Linked DNA regions of Homo sapiens: all the other regions are linked to region 3. Evidence: promoter capture Hi-C in 16 types of primary human blood cells and fetal thymus (Javierre and others, 2016). All regions are on one chromosome and are shown on one strand. The core of a region is centred on a gene start or on the middle of the fragment in contact, and the rest is flanking DNA. Distances in the headings are between cores, read along the strand shown.

The links. The method cuts DNA at HindIII sites, captures the fragments that hold promoters and counts their contacts. A CHiCAGO score of 5 or more calls a contact.
Region 1: a contact is called between a fragment that was not itself captured here and the fragment with the promoter of C1orf21 in region 3, in 2 of 17 cell types (M1 macrophages and megakaryocytes). The highest score is 6.1, in M1 macrophages.
Region 2: a fragment that was not itself captured here is called in contact with the fragment with the promoter of C1orf21 in region 3 in 3 of 17 cell types (M1 macrophages, M0 macrophages and megakaryocytes); the score reaches 6.3 in M1 macrophages.

The regions. Positions count from the first base shown.
Region 1 is chr1:184,568,383-184,572,215 of GRCh38, forward strand. The region is part of intron 3 of C1orf21 (chromosome 1 open reading frame 21); the gene reads left to right. Among named protein-coding and RNA genes, the nearest start is that of C1orf21, 180 kb to the left of the region's middle. The HindIII fragment of the contact is 8,987 bases long and covers 1-3,833 here.
Region 2 is chr1:184,631,196-184,635,052 of GRCh38, forward strand. No RefSeq gene overlaps it. Among named protein-coding and RNA genes, the nearest start is that of EDEM3, 120 kb to the right of the region's middle. The HindIII fragment of the contact is 2,912 bases long and covers 331-3,242 here.
Region 3 is chr1:184,385,066-184,388,998 of GRCh38, forward strand. It overlaps C1orf21 (chromosome 1 open reading frame 21), which reads left to right and starts at 1,964. Exons shown (of 6, transcript NM_030806.4): 1 at 1,964-2,303. It overlaps C1orf21-DT (C1orf21 divergent transcript), which reads right to left and starts at 1,639. Exons shown (of 1, transcript NR_172919.1): 1 at 688-1,639. RefSeq lists silencers at 1,450-1,509, 1,600-1,709, 1,740-1,999. The HindIII fragment of the contact is 4,352 bases long and covers 273-3,933 here.

The DNA.
Region 1 (3,833 bases), core at 865-3,364, 180 kb after region 3:
CTCGCTGTTCCCAGTCACTGGCAACCACCATTCTACTTTCTGTCTCCATGAATTTGACTACTCCAGGCTGCTGTGCATTTTAGAGAAGTTCTTATGTGATACTGTGAGTATTATAAGGGAATAATATTTGATATTTATTGGCATTACAACCTAAAAGTCTTATGGTGAAAATATTTCAAAGATATTTAGAGTAAAATGATGCATGTTAAGCTCTTTTTCCTCCTTGAAGTAACTTAAAACCTATTTTTTAAAAAACACCCTGAGGTTCTTATAACTCAGCTTAAAAGTGATGGTGCCCATGCACTGGGGTGACTGCTGTTTCTTGCTCTCTTTTTCTCCCATGGAGCCACAGTCACAATTTTAGTCAAGGTTACAATGAAAGCACCACTCCTTCTCTTTGATGGTCCTCCATTCTTGTGCCTCAGCTCCAAAGGTCATTCTGCCCTTTCTGTGCCCAGCTTCATTCTGAGTGGGATTAATGTTACTGAACCGTGTAGCACACAAGTAAAGGAGGACAAATGTTCATTCGTTCTTTCTTTCAACCTTTATTGAGTACCTACCACATTACCTACTATATACAAAGATGGATAAGACGTGAACACCGTCTTTAGGGGCTTGCATTTTATTAAGTTGAAGCATTTAAAGGAGCCTGTAGTAAGAAGAGACAGATATGTAAACAGATAAGCCAAGGCATTGGGATAAGTCTCTGCCAAGAATAGGGAGGGAGACAGTGGTTCTACCCAGGATGAGAGGGCGTCAGCATGGTGTTTTCTTTTGCTTTTCTTCACAAGCCTGATGGAGTGTACCATGCTACCTTGACTAGCTTCTGCAGTTCCTTTTCATAGTCTCTGGAGGAACTGGAGTTGTTCCAGTGATACAGAGCAGTAGAGCAGGTGGTGGTTCGCTAATTTGGACAAGGAAGCAGCAGTTCCCATTGCCACTTGCTTCTCATTTCCATCATCAGTGGTCATTAAATGAAAGTGTGCACATTTTCCAGAGCGTGGTTGAAAGTCCTTTTGTATACAGATAAGCTAAATTCTGTTACTTGCCTTACACTTTGTCAGAGGCTGAACGTTGGAAGGTTAAATGAGGAAATGCTCATTCATTTCTGGATTATGGTATTCTCCTTTCAAATAAAATTACCTAAATAGACAACTACTTAATTTGGAGGAAAAAATAAAATTAAACTCCAGACTGGGTGCAATGGCAGGTGCCTCTGGTCCAAGCTACTTGGGAGGCCAAGGATGGAGAATCACCTGAGGCCAGGAGTTCGAGGACAGCCTGGGCAATATAGCAAGACTTCCATCCCTAAAAAATAAAATAGATAATAAAACTTTGTACAAGACAGAATGATGATAGAAACTGGCTGTGACAGGGTGGTACTATTTTGAAGATTGGGGCCAGGGATGTCAGAACAGTGAGCTAGGGTTGGTAAAGGACTTACTGTTGTCAGTTCAGGAAGAGGTCACTGTGCTGTGGAGAGGACTATGGCATAGCCATATGTCCTAAGCCAAAGCCTACAGAAGCCAAGAATTTAGGGCCCTTTAACTGAGTCTTCAAAAAGTAGCATGGACACTGCAGTCTGGTCTATCCAAATCATCCTCGAAACTGCAGTTTCCTCTTGATAATAGGTAAAGGATATTTATTTGAGGGAAAAGCTGCCACTTAGTTATGTAATATCATTCTGCCTTGTTCACCCTAGAACAAGGAATTAGGTAGAGGTGGCAAACAAATTTTATACTATATTAAATAAGATTTAAATATATATTTTTCAGGCACAACTTTTTTATTTTTTTATTTTCGCTGTGTTTTTAAATCAGTAAAAGACATGGGATCCTAGAAGCTGCAGTGATCTAAGTAGCAGCAAGTTTGCGCGTATATCCTTTTTGTTTTGTTTGTTTGAATGTTTAAATAATGTTTAATAAGTTTAAATTATGTTAAATATGCTGAAATGTGTTAAATATGTTTATGTTTAATTGTTAAATATGTTTAAATTGTAATGTTGTTTAAATTATCACACTGCTGCCACAGTCCCCTTGCATGAAATTCTGCACTATACATACTAATTGTAGTAAAGTTACCCCTATATCTCAGGCAGGGCAAACAACTCTGGAAGATAATTTTCACTGAAGTCTAACCAAACTTCATTAAATGGATTCTGATAAGATTATAAATGACATGAAAAATAATATTTTAACATCAAGTCATCAATTTAAGAAAAGGGTGTGCTTAGACACATTTTTAAAGTTTTTAAAAAGTAATATTCTACCCTCCTATAGTCCTCAGAATTAAAGCATAGTGAACAGGAAAGAAAAGGAAAATAATGCAACTGAGTGCTAAGGCAGAACATCTTGCCAGATGTAATGAAAGTGGCGTATTCACAGTCATGGGTTGCTTAACGACCAGGAAACGTTCAAAGAAATGCATCCTTAGGTGATTTTTGTCGTCATGTGAACCTCATAGAGTGAACTTACACAGGTTCTACACACCTAGGCTCTATGGTATAGCCTGTTGCTCCTAGGCTACAAACTTGTACAGCATGTCACTGAGCTGAATCTTGCAAGCGTTTATACACAATGATAAGTATTTGTCCATCTAAACATCTCTAAGCATAGAAAAGGTACGGTAAGGCCGGGCGCGGTGGCTCACGCCTGTAATCCCAGCACTTTGGGAGGCCGAGGCGGGCGGATCACGAGGTCAGGAGATCGAGACCATCCCGGCTAAAACGGTGAAACCCCGTCTCTACTAAAAAATACAAAAAAAAATTAGCCGGGCGTAGTGGCGGGCGCCTGTAGTCCCAGCTACTTGGGAGGCTGAGGCAGGAGAATGGCGTGAACCCGGGAGGCGGAGCTTGCAGTGAGCCGAGATCCCGCCACTGCACTCCAGCCTGGGCGACAGAGCGAGACTCCGTCTCAAAAAAAAAAAAAAAAAAAAAAGAAAAGGTACGGTAAAAATACAGTATTATAATATTACGGGACCCCTGTCATATATGCAGTTCATCGGTGACCAAAATGCTGTTATGCAGCATGTGACTGTGTTTAACAACTGGCTTTACCTAGTATCAATGCCGGCTATATGTATTACTTGGTCAACTTGAATGACCGTTTAGAAGAATTTTGATTGCCTTTCGAGTAGGCTTTATCTTACCAGTTATACCTGGTCCCTCTACCCCCTGTTGTTTGCTGGAGACACTTCATCCCTTTCCATGACTTGCCTGGCTTTGACTTGCTTTGGGCTGGAAAGGGGCAGCTGCTGTTTATCATCTATGGCCATTGGGGGATTTCCAGGATTCTTGCCCTGTCATTAAAATTGTGTGTCCCTTCCAGACCTCTCTCATCATTAGATATTGGAACATAAGGGGGGAGTTTAAAAATATGTGGACTGCTCTTTTCCTCATCCTCTTTAATTTATATAGATTTGGCCTTTTTAAGAATGTAAAGTATTTATTGAAAAAGATGGACATGCAGAGTTTCTATCCCCTCTTGACCAGTAACTCTATGGCCTTGTTTCCTTGATGTTCTTCTTAATGTTCTCAACTGTGGGAATGCTTACCTCATATAGTTGTTATGAGGATTGAATGATAACAATTAATACAGATAACAGCAATAATAGTAATGGCTGGCATCTATTGGGCTCTTACCACATGGCAGGACTTGTGCCTGGCATTTCATCTGCACTAACTCAGTTAATGTCCACAGGCCTTAGTCAGGTGTCTGGCTCTTGGGAGGGGTGCTGTCAATGAGAGCTATTATTTTTGTTGTTATTGTGTTTATGATTACAAGAGACCATAAGAGACAAGGAATCAAAAGCTGTGTTTCTCCATTATCAGATTA
Region 2 (3,857 bases), core at 537-3,036, 250 kb after region 3:
TTCAAGAGCCAAGTTGCCATGCTGAGGAAGGGTGACCCCAGAGCAGAGCCTAGGCCAGGTGAGGAGCAGGTCTGAGAGACGCGATGATCACAGAGAGTGGAACACCTGTGTTTAAGGACATGGCTACAGAACATACATTGTAAATAATGTTATAGCATTATTTCTAACAGTAAAAAATGGGACACAATCTTAGCACCCTTCAGAAAAAGAATGAATAAATAAATAATAATGAAGTTGATCTTGTATCAATAGGGATAAACCTCAGAAATACAACAGTGAATGAAAAACACACAAAGGATACAGTATGACACCATTTATATAAAGTTTGAAAGCTTGCAAAACCATATCTATTATGTGTGGATACTTACATGTATAGTAAAAGTATAAAAACATACATGGAAAACATAAATACCAATTTCAGAAGAGCAGGAAGAAGGCAGGAAATGGCACAGGTGAGGGTTAACAATGTTCTAGTCTTTTAAAACATCAGCTGAAGAAAATATGGAGACATAGGGACAATATTCTCTATACTCCTGCGTGCTTGTACTATTTTATCATTTTTAAAGGAACAAAGAGTGCTCTAGGAGCAACTTCATGTTGGTGATAGACTGCAGCTGGTTGAGCTTTGGGTGCTGCAGTCAGCCACAGGTGAGAACGGTGACGGTGTGACAGGGAATGGGCACCACTCCTCTCAGAGCTCTGGTGGCTTTTCAAATCTGCTTCATCTCCTATTTCTGTGTCCTTGTCTCTAGTTTTCATATGTAGATGACATGGGAAGGAGACAAAGTTTTAACTTCCTCCGATCACATCATGTTACTAATCCAAAGTCCCAGACTGTCTCTTCCTCTGAAGTCCCACAGCTTTAGTATGCTGCATGTGGGATTGGACCTCAACAATTGCTTTCGGATCAGATCTCACTCATCATCTTTGCCCTGGATGAGGCTCTATTCAGTCTTCTTGGGTGTGTTACAATTTGGCACAAAACATCTTGTCCACATATATGTTCCCCCCAGGGCTGCCTGCCCCCCCCCCACCCACCAGACCCTCACACACAGCCCTTTTGGACTTGCCACAGCTCTTTCCACAAGGACTCAGAGTCCCTCAGGGGAGAGCACCCCCCAGAGTTTTGAGCAACATTGACTGACTGGCTGAGATGACCTGGGACAGCAGGTCCCACTCTGCAAATGCATAAGAAGAATCACTGAGGAGGCTTGAAATACACACATACACGTGCACACACACCCACACACACACACATGGCCTCTGACATCTGACCCCTCAAAAGGTCTCATTTGTAACTACTGGAGTGGGGGATTCTGACAAGTACCAAGTTTGGGAGCCGGGATCTACAGTGTAGTAAACAGTGGCAGGTACAGAGTAGAGCTGGAGGAGAATGAGAGCACGCAGTCTGTTGCAGACAGGGATTTCATAAGACTCAGTGAGTTCTTCAGTGCAGTTTCAGACATGCCTGCCAATAGGTCTCCCTCCAGAAGTTGGTTCTCCAAGAGTTGTATGGCTCAAACAAATGGTATTAACCATGGATAGATGCTAAAGATGAATAGAGGTTGAGAATCTGCTTCCTCACCACCAGAAAGAGAAAAAAGGAGGTGTCACTTGGTCAGAGCCACCTTGTTGATTCATTGATGGTCTCCTTTGGGCCTCTGTCATGGCTGCACACTAGAATCACCTGGGGAGCTTAGACGGCCCATGTCCAGACCTCAGGTCAGTTGAGTCAGAATCTCTGGGCATGGGGCCCAGCATTGGCATTGTAAATATCATCTCACCTCAGGCAACCGAGCCACAGGGAGTGTTTGAGAACAACTTGTCCACCCTGCATGCCACTGAGTTGGGCACCAGCAAACAAAGCTGAACAGACTAAAGCCTGCCTCTGAAGAACTTGGAGATGATAGGGTGCAGGTTTGCAAACACGTACTCCAACGGGCTGCAAGAGCCCGGGAAAGGAACTCAAAAGAATCCTTCAGGAGAAGGTGGTGAGAATAGGCAGCCACGAATGAGTAGGTTCTGTGCAGGGACTCCCCAGTGATGCATGAAGGAGCGTCCCTCTTGTTGAAATAGGACAAGAGAGTGAACCAACCCCTACAAGACCAAGAGTTCAGGCTAGGGAAAAGCCTCAATTCAGCTGGGTCCCAGATATGCTTTTGCTCAAGCCATCCTGAAGAAAGAATTCTTGAAGCTGTCTTGACAGGGGACCTGCTAACCTCTGCTGAGAACTCCCTTACTGTACAGGAGTTTTATCCCCCTGAGCTAACCTCAGGCAACAGCCCAGACCTGTCCTACCCTTTCCTGAACCAGCTGACCCCCATCCCTCAGAACACGCCGGCCGTGGGAGGCACATTCAGGCTAGAATAGGCATCCAGGCAATGAGCCCCTTCCCTATAAGACATGACCAACAAACCACAAGGAAAGCAAATCCCCAGGAACACTTTTGTATGAAGGAGGGATCCCTGGCTTAAAGGGGCTGAGGACAGTAGCTGCTTATCCTCTCTGCAGGGTCCCCTCCACTGAATAAACAGAAAAGCAGGACTTACACACCTGATGCCTTTGGAAGGGGCATTAGGGGTTGTTACTATAATGGGGGCTGCAGTGGTTGGATTCCTGGTAAAAGATCATCCCAGTGAGTTTGGTAATTGCCAACCGGTATGTTACCCAAGACATATGCATCCTCTCATGTGGAGCGGCCAGGCTCATGGCTGGAATTTCAAGCACTTGCTCCAATTGTTTGCAGAGTTCTGGTCATTGGTATGCTCGGCACTTGGCCATCAACTTGACGCTAGGTTCTCATGGCTTGCTGTCCTATCAGGGACTGACAGCTTGGAATACAACCAACAGAGAAAATCCAATAAAAAGCCATTGTAGAGACTGATCTGCCACCATCCTGCTCCCTAGTGGCCCATCTAGGGGGTGGGGATGCTGGGTGGAGTGCTGGCTGATTTCCCAGAGGCTTTTTGTGTCCACTGAAGACTCCTCTGGACATTTCTTGTCAATCACAAACTCAACCTGGGGCCCACAGGCAAGCAAGTCTCCCATTATCAGACTGGAATACAAATGGGGTTTTAGATGTAAAGATCAGGTTTGATGGCATGTGATGCCATCAAACATGAAGGAGAAACCCCTTCCCAAAGCTCCATCACTCTACAAGTGAAAATTCAAGACTCTAACAAGGCTCTGTCTTGAGTTCCCACCCCCTATTCCCAGGCTTTGCCCAAAAAAGGAAAAAAGGAAGCTTTAAATCAGGTCACCCTAAATCCTCTTTAATCCTTGAGATTATCCATCTGGTATTTGTGTATTTGTGTTTCTGCCAATACAGTGGGATTTGCGTGCCCTGGGCCCTCTCTGGTTCCTGCTACAAGCCACAGAAGTGGCTTCAAACACCTGTCTCCCCTTTCCCCCTTTAGAGGTAATTGGAAAAGAAAAGCTTGAGTAGCCTCCAAAGTAGAAATAAGTAGAGTCCTCAGGGTAAGTAAGAAGACCCCAGGGCACAGTGAGGCCTCTTCCCACATTGAAACATGGTCAGCCCTGAGTTCCTGCCCTCAAGTTACCGGTGAGATGGTCTTCTTAGCAGAAGCCAAGTCTACCAAACTGTGGCAAAGTCCTCATCCTTCAGGTGAAATGTGGCATCAAGGCCATTGCTGGGTCCCCAGTCGATCCATTCTCATAACAGTCTCTGCTACTTATTGAGCAGTGACTAAATGTTCTCTGATGTAATCATGACAATCCCTTATAAATGGGTGCTGATCACTCATTTATGGCTGGGGAAATAGCCTCAGAGAGGTTGAGTATCGTACCCCAAGGTCACACAGCAGGAAGTGATGGAGCCATGATACCAACTCAGGTCC
Region 3 (3,933 bases), core at 714-3,213:
TTCATTTTACCACAGGCAAAAGTTTCAGGCAGGGCGTAAAAACCCAAGGGAAGAGTGGACTACATTTGAATAAATCCATCAGCTGTGTCCATTCTCCTCCCTAACTTTTCAGAAGGAATGGAAAGAGAATAAAATTCTACCAAATTTGAGTTTAAAATAATCAAGTCTGAAACAATAGCTTCTATTTATTGAGTTCTCACCCATGTGTCAGGCACTATGCAAAGTGTTTTACATGCATTGCCACCTCGTTTTATTTTCTTTTTACTTTCACAAGCTTATGAGGTAGGAACGATCATTATCAATGCCTTTACAGATGAGGAAAGAAAGAAGAAATGAAACAAGTCACCAGTGGTGAAAGGGATGGGGCTGGCTGCCCCTGATTGAAATCTCAATTTATCTACCCTCCCTTCTTAACCGCTCCTTTCCAAGAGGCTAGACTACAAAAAATTTGGGCTCCAAGAAGTATGAACCAGAATATGGATATTTTGTAAAAATGGAATGTAAGTTGAGGTTCCTGAACAATGTGATGTTAGGCAGGGTGCGGTGGAATTGGCCTGTAGTCCCAGCTACTTGGGAGGCTGAGATGGGGAAGATCCCTTGAGGAGGATCTCTTGGGTTCAGGAGTTCGAATCCAGCCTTGGCAGCAGACCCCATCCCTGAAAACAATAAAAATTAAAACAACAACAGTGGGATACTAGTCTTTTAATTTGAAAAAAAAAGGGGTGGAGAAAGGGAAAACCAGTTTTCAAAAAAGGCCAATTTCCTAGACATTAGTGGTTGATTACTAACTCATTTCATTAAACTAAATTATGAATTGGCTTTTCTCGTCAGTGTCACCACTCTGATGGCGTTCTTTTCCATTTTCCATCTTCACCCTGGCCGAATGTGGGAAATGATCTGGTTTGTGCATAATCCGCGAGGCCCAGGGAGGATCTTTTGCCCCTATTGTTTTCTTGGGTGTTCTCACTCTGGGGGCCTGACATTCCTCGCGTGTCTAAGGCAATGAGGGAGCAGTGAAGCGCGGGGAAGCCGCACAAAAGACATCCAAAGGCTATCAATGGAAAAAGATCAATTAGGTGCACACAAGAAACACCCAATATGCCAGGGAAGAGAAAAATACCCTTTTCCAGAGGGTGGGAAATTGATTGAGCTTCTGTGAGGGTCCACAAAGAACTGGACGGATGCAGTGGTGGATGGCGATCTCTCTGGACCACTCCGGACGCGCCCAGCAGACGCAGCCTACGCCTTTAGGTCCTAGGAGGCTGAGAAGGGTGGGGAGAGGGGGGCAGCACGATCTTGTGTCTTTCCTCCCCGTGCCGCCTCTACCGAATCGCGGATGCTTCATTAATCTTGCAGGCGCCGCAGCTCGGGTCAGTATGGAGGCGGATCGGTGGCAGAGCCCGGGCCTCTGGGCTGCGCCCGCCCGTTCAGCCTGGCCCGGGAGGGGAGCGGCCGCGCGGTGGGCCAAAGACGCCCGGCCTTCCCTCCGTCTGCTTCCAGCAGGCACAGCCGGGAGGCTGGGCTCAGGGGCTGACCCGAATCTCCCCTAGAGCTGGGCCCACCCGGCTGCCCCCCGAGCAGCCTCGCCGCTCCCACGCCACCGCCCAAGTGACAGGCCCGGGAAGGCCGGACGGGACGCAGTCTTCCCGCCGGGGTCTTCCCTCCGGCTGGCCGGCCGCTGCAGGGCGCGCGCGCACACACGTACACACACACACACACCTGCCCACACACACACACACACACACACACACACACTGCCGCCTCCTTCCCGCCCCGCAGCCCTAGCAGCCCCCAACCCGCTCCCCAGCGCGCTGCGCCCCGGCGGCCTCCGCAGGCCCCGCCCCGGGGAGGAGAGCCAGGCGCGCGCGGGAGCTAGGCTCGGGGAGGGGCCGGCGGTGGGGGAGTGTCTGCTGCCCCCGCCCCTCGAGTGAGTGACTGAGCGAGGAGCTCCCCTCCCTCGCTCGCTCCTCGCAAGCTCCCGCTCGCTCCCTGCCCACTCCCGGGGGGACGTTCCGTGCCGCGGCCGCCGCGGCCGCTGCTTCTTTCACACTTTAGTTGGGAGCTGCGCGCCGCGCTCAGTTACTGGAGAGCTGGCCGCGCGCCGCCGCCTCCCGCACGCTTGCACGCGGGCCCGGCTTCGGGGTTTTGGGTTCTTACTCCAAGCGGCGGGGAGGAGGGGGAGCCCCGGACACACTGTGGGGAGGAGGAGGAAGAAGAGGAGGAGGGAGGAAGAAAAAAGACGAGGAGGACAGGGGCGGGGGGCGGGAGGCTTGCCACCTTCAGCCCCCCCGCGAACGCCCAAGGTAAGTGTGAGCCATTGCCTGCTCTGGGGCGGGGGGAGCTGGCGGTGCAGCCCGCCCCGGCTCGGCTACCCGGGCATCCCCGGGTGGGCAGGGAGGGAGGCCTGCGGGGTGTCTGCCGCACGGAAGGGATGGGAGCCGCGGTCGTGGCGCTGCCTGCGCGGGGCCCGGGCCGGGGCTGCTGCTGGTGCGGGGCTGGCGGGGTTGCTGCCAGGGACGGAAGCTGGGGTGGGGGAGCCGCGAGGGGCGTCTGCCGGCCTGGGCGGAGGGGCTGGGATGTGGTCGGGGCTGCTGACGACTTTCGTCACATCGAGGCCTGGGTGGCTGGTGTTAGACACCCCTCCCTTCCCACCCGCACCCTGCCGCCCTCAGCCTTCCTGCTCTCCTCTAGCTTTGCATGTAGCCACCGTACTTTGCAAGCCAGAGCTTGAAAGGAAAAACACAATTTAGGATCCTTTGCTAAGTATCCAAGTCCCTTCTCTCGCTCCGACTGATTGATGTGTTTGTGTGGGTGGTTTGACCCCCGGGATTTCTGAAGTTTTGACCTTTTTGGGGTGGCTCGTTTCGTTGCATCTGTTTGCCCACCTCGGTGTATTTATTATTCGTGCCCATGCGAGGCAGCCAGAGGGTGCTTGGTTATTGTACACGAAACAGATTTCACTCTCCTCTGCAGGCAGTTCGCGAAGTGCCGCCGCCGCGGCTGCCTTTGGTCTGCTGGTTAATGTCCTTTCCCTATCATCCACCCTGCTCCCTCCCTCTACGGAGGGTTAGTTTTTGTTTTTGTTTTTGTTTTTTCCTTTCCACTTACTGTTTGTGTGAGAGAAGTCCTGGGCTTAAGGGCTCTCAGCACTCGTTCATTTCTCTTCTAAAGCTCTGAATGGCTCAGGCATGTCGGTAAAATTTGGGGTGGTCCTCTTTGCTCCAAGAGTTGCATGGCCAAAGATAAAAATATGCACACATAAACACGCATTAATTCTGAGAGACGGCAAGCAGTTTGAGAGAGAAATAATTTGTTTTCAATAGGAAGTCGGTGACCTATGGGATCTCTTCCATTGCCGGTGGGTTAGGAAAATTGTTTTAAAATAGATAGTGCTTGTGTTGTCCGTGGCTGGAAGACAGCCATAGTTCAGTTACTGAAGCAATTCTGAAAGTGATACACCCTGGGCACCCAGAACCTCAGTAAAGACACACGTAGTCTGACTCAGATGTTAGGAAGGGGACTGACACACCATAGATTCCATGGAGTATTTTTTTCTTTCTTTTCTTTTTTTTTTTTGTAGGAGACTGTCCAGACCGTTTGGGGAAATGACAAGTTCATTACACAGACAGATGTAATGAACACCTCCCTATTCAAGGGGATGGGTTCAGCTTCTGCCTAATAGGAATAACCTTTTGATTTGATAGAATTGGAATGTACCAGGATAGAAACAAACATAGGTGGAGTGGGCCTGAGCTACTTCAGCACTGTTGTGGGGAGAAGGTGATGTTTCTGAAGGGTCTTTTAAGTTCAAGATGCTGAATTTGGAGTTTTCCCCCCTTTTTCATATTGTCTAGAGCTGGATTGTAGGATCAATAGAACATGTTCCATGTTGGCTGTTTGGAAATGTAATTGTCAGACATGGAAATTAATTTG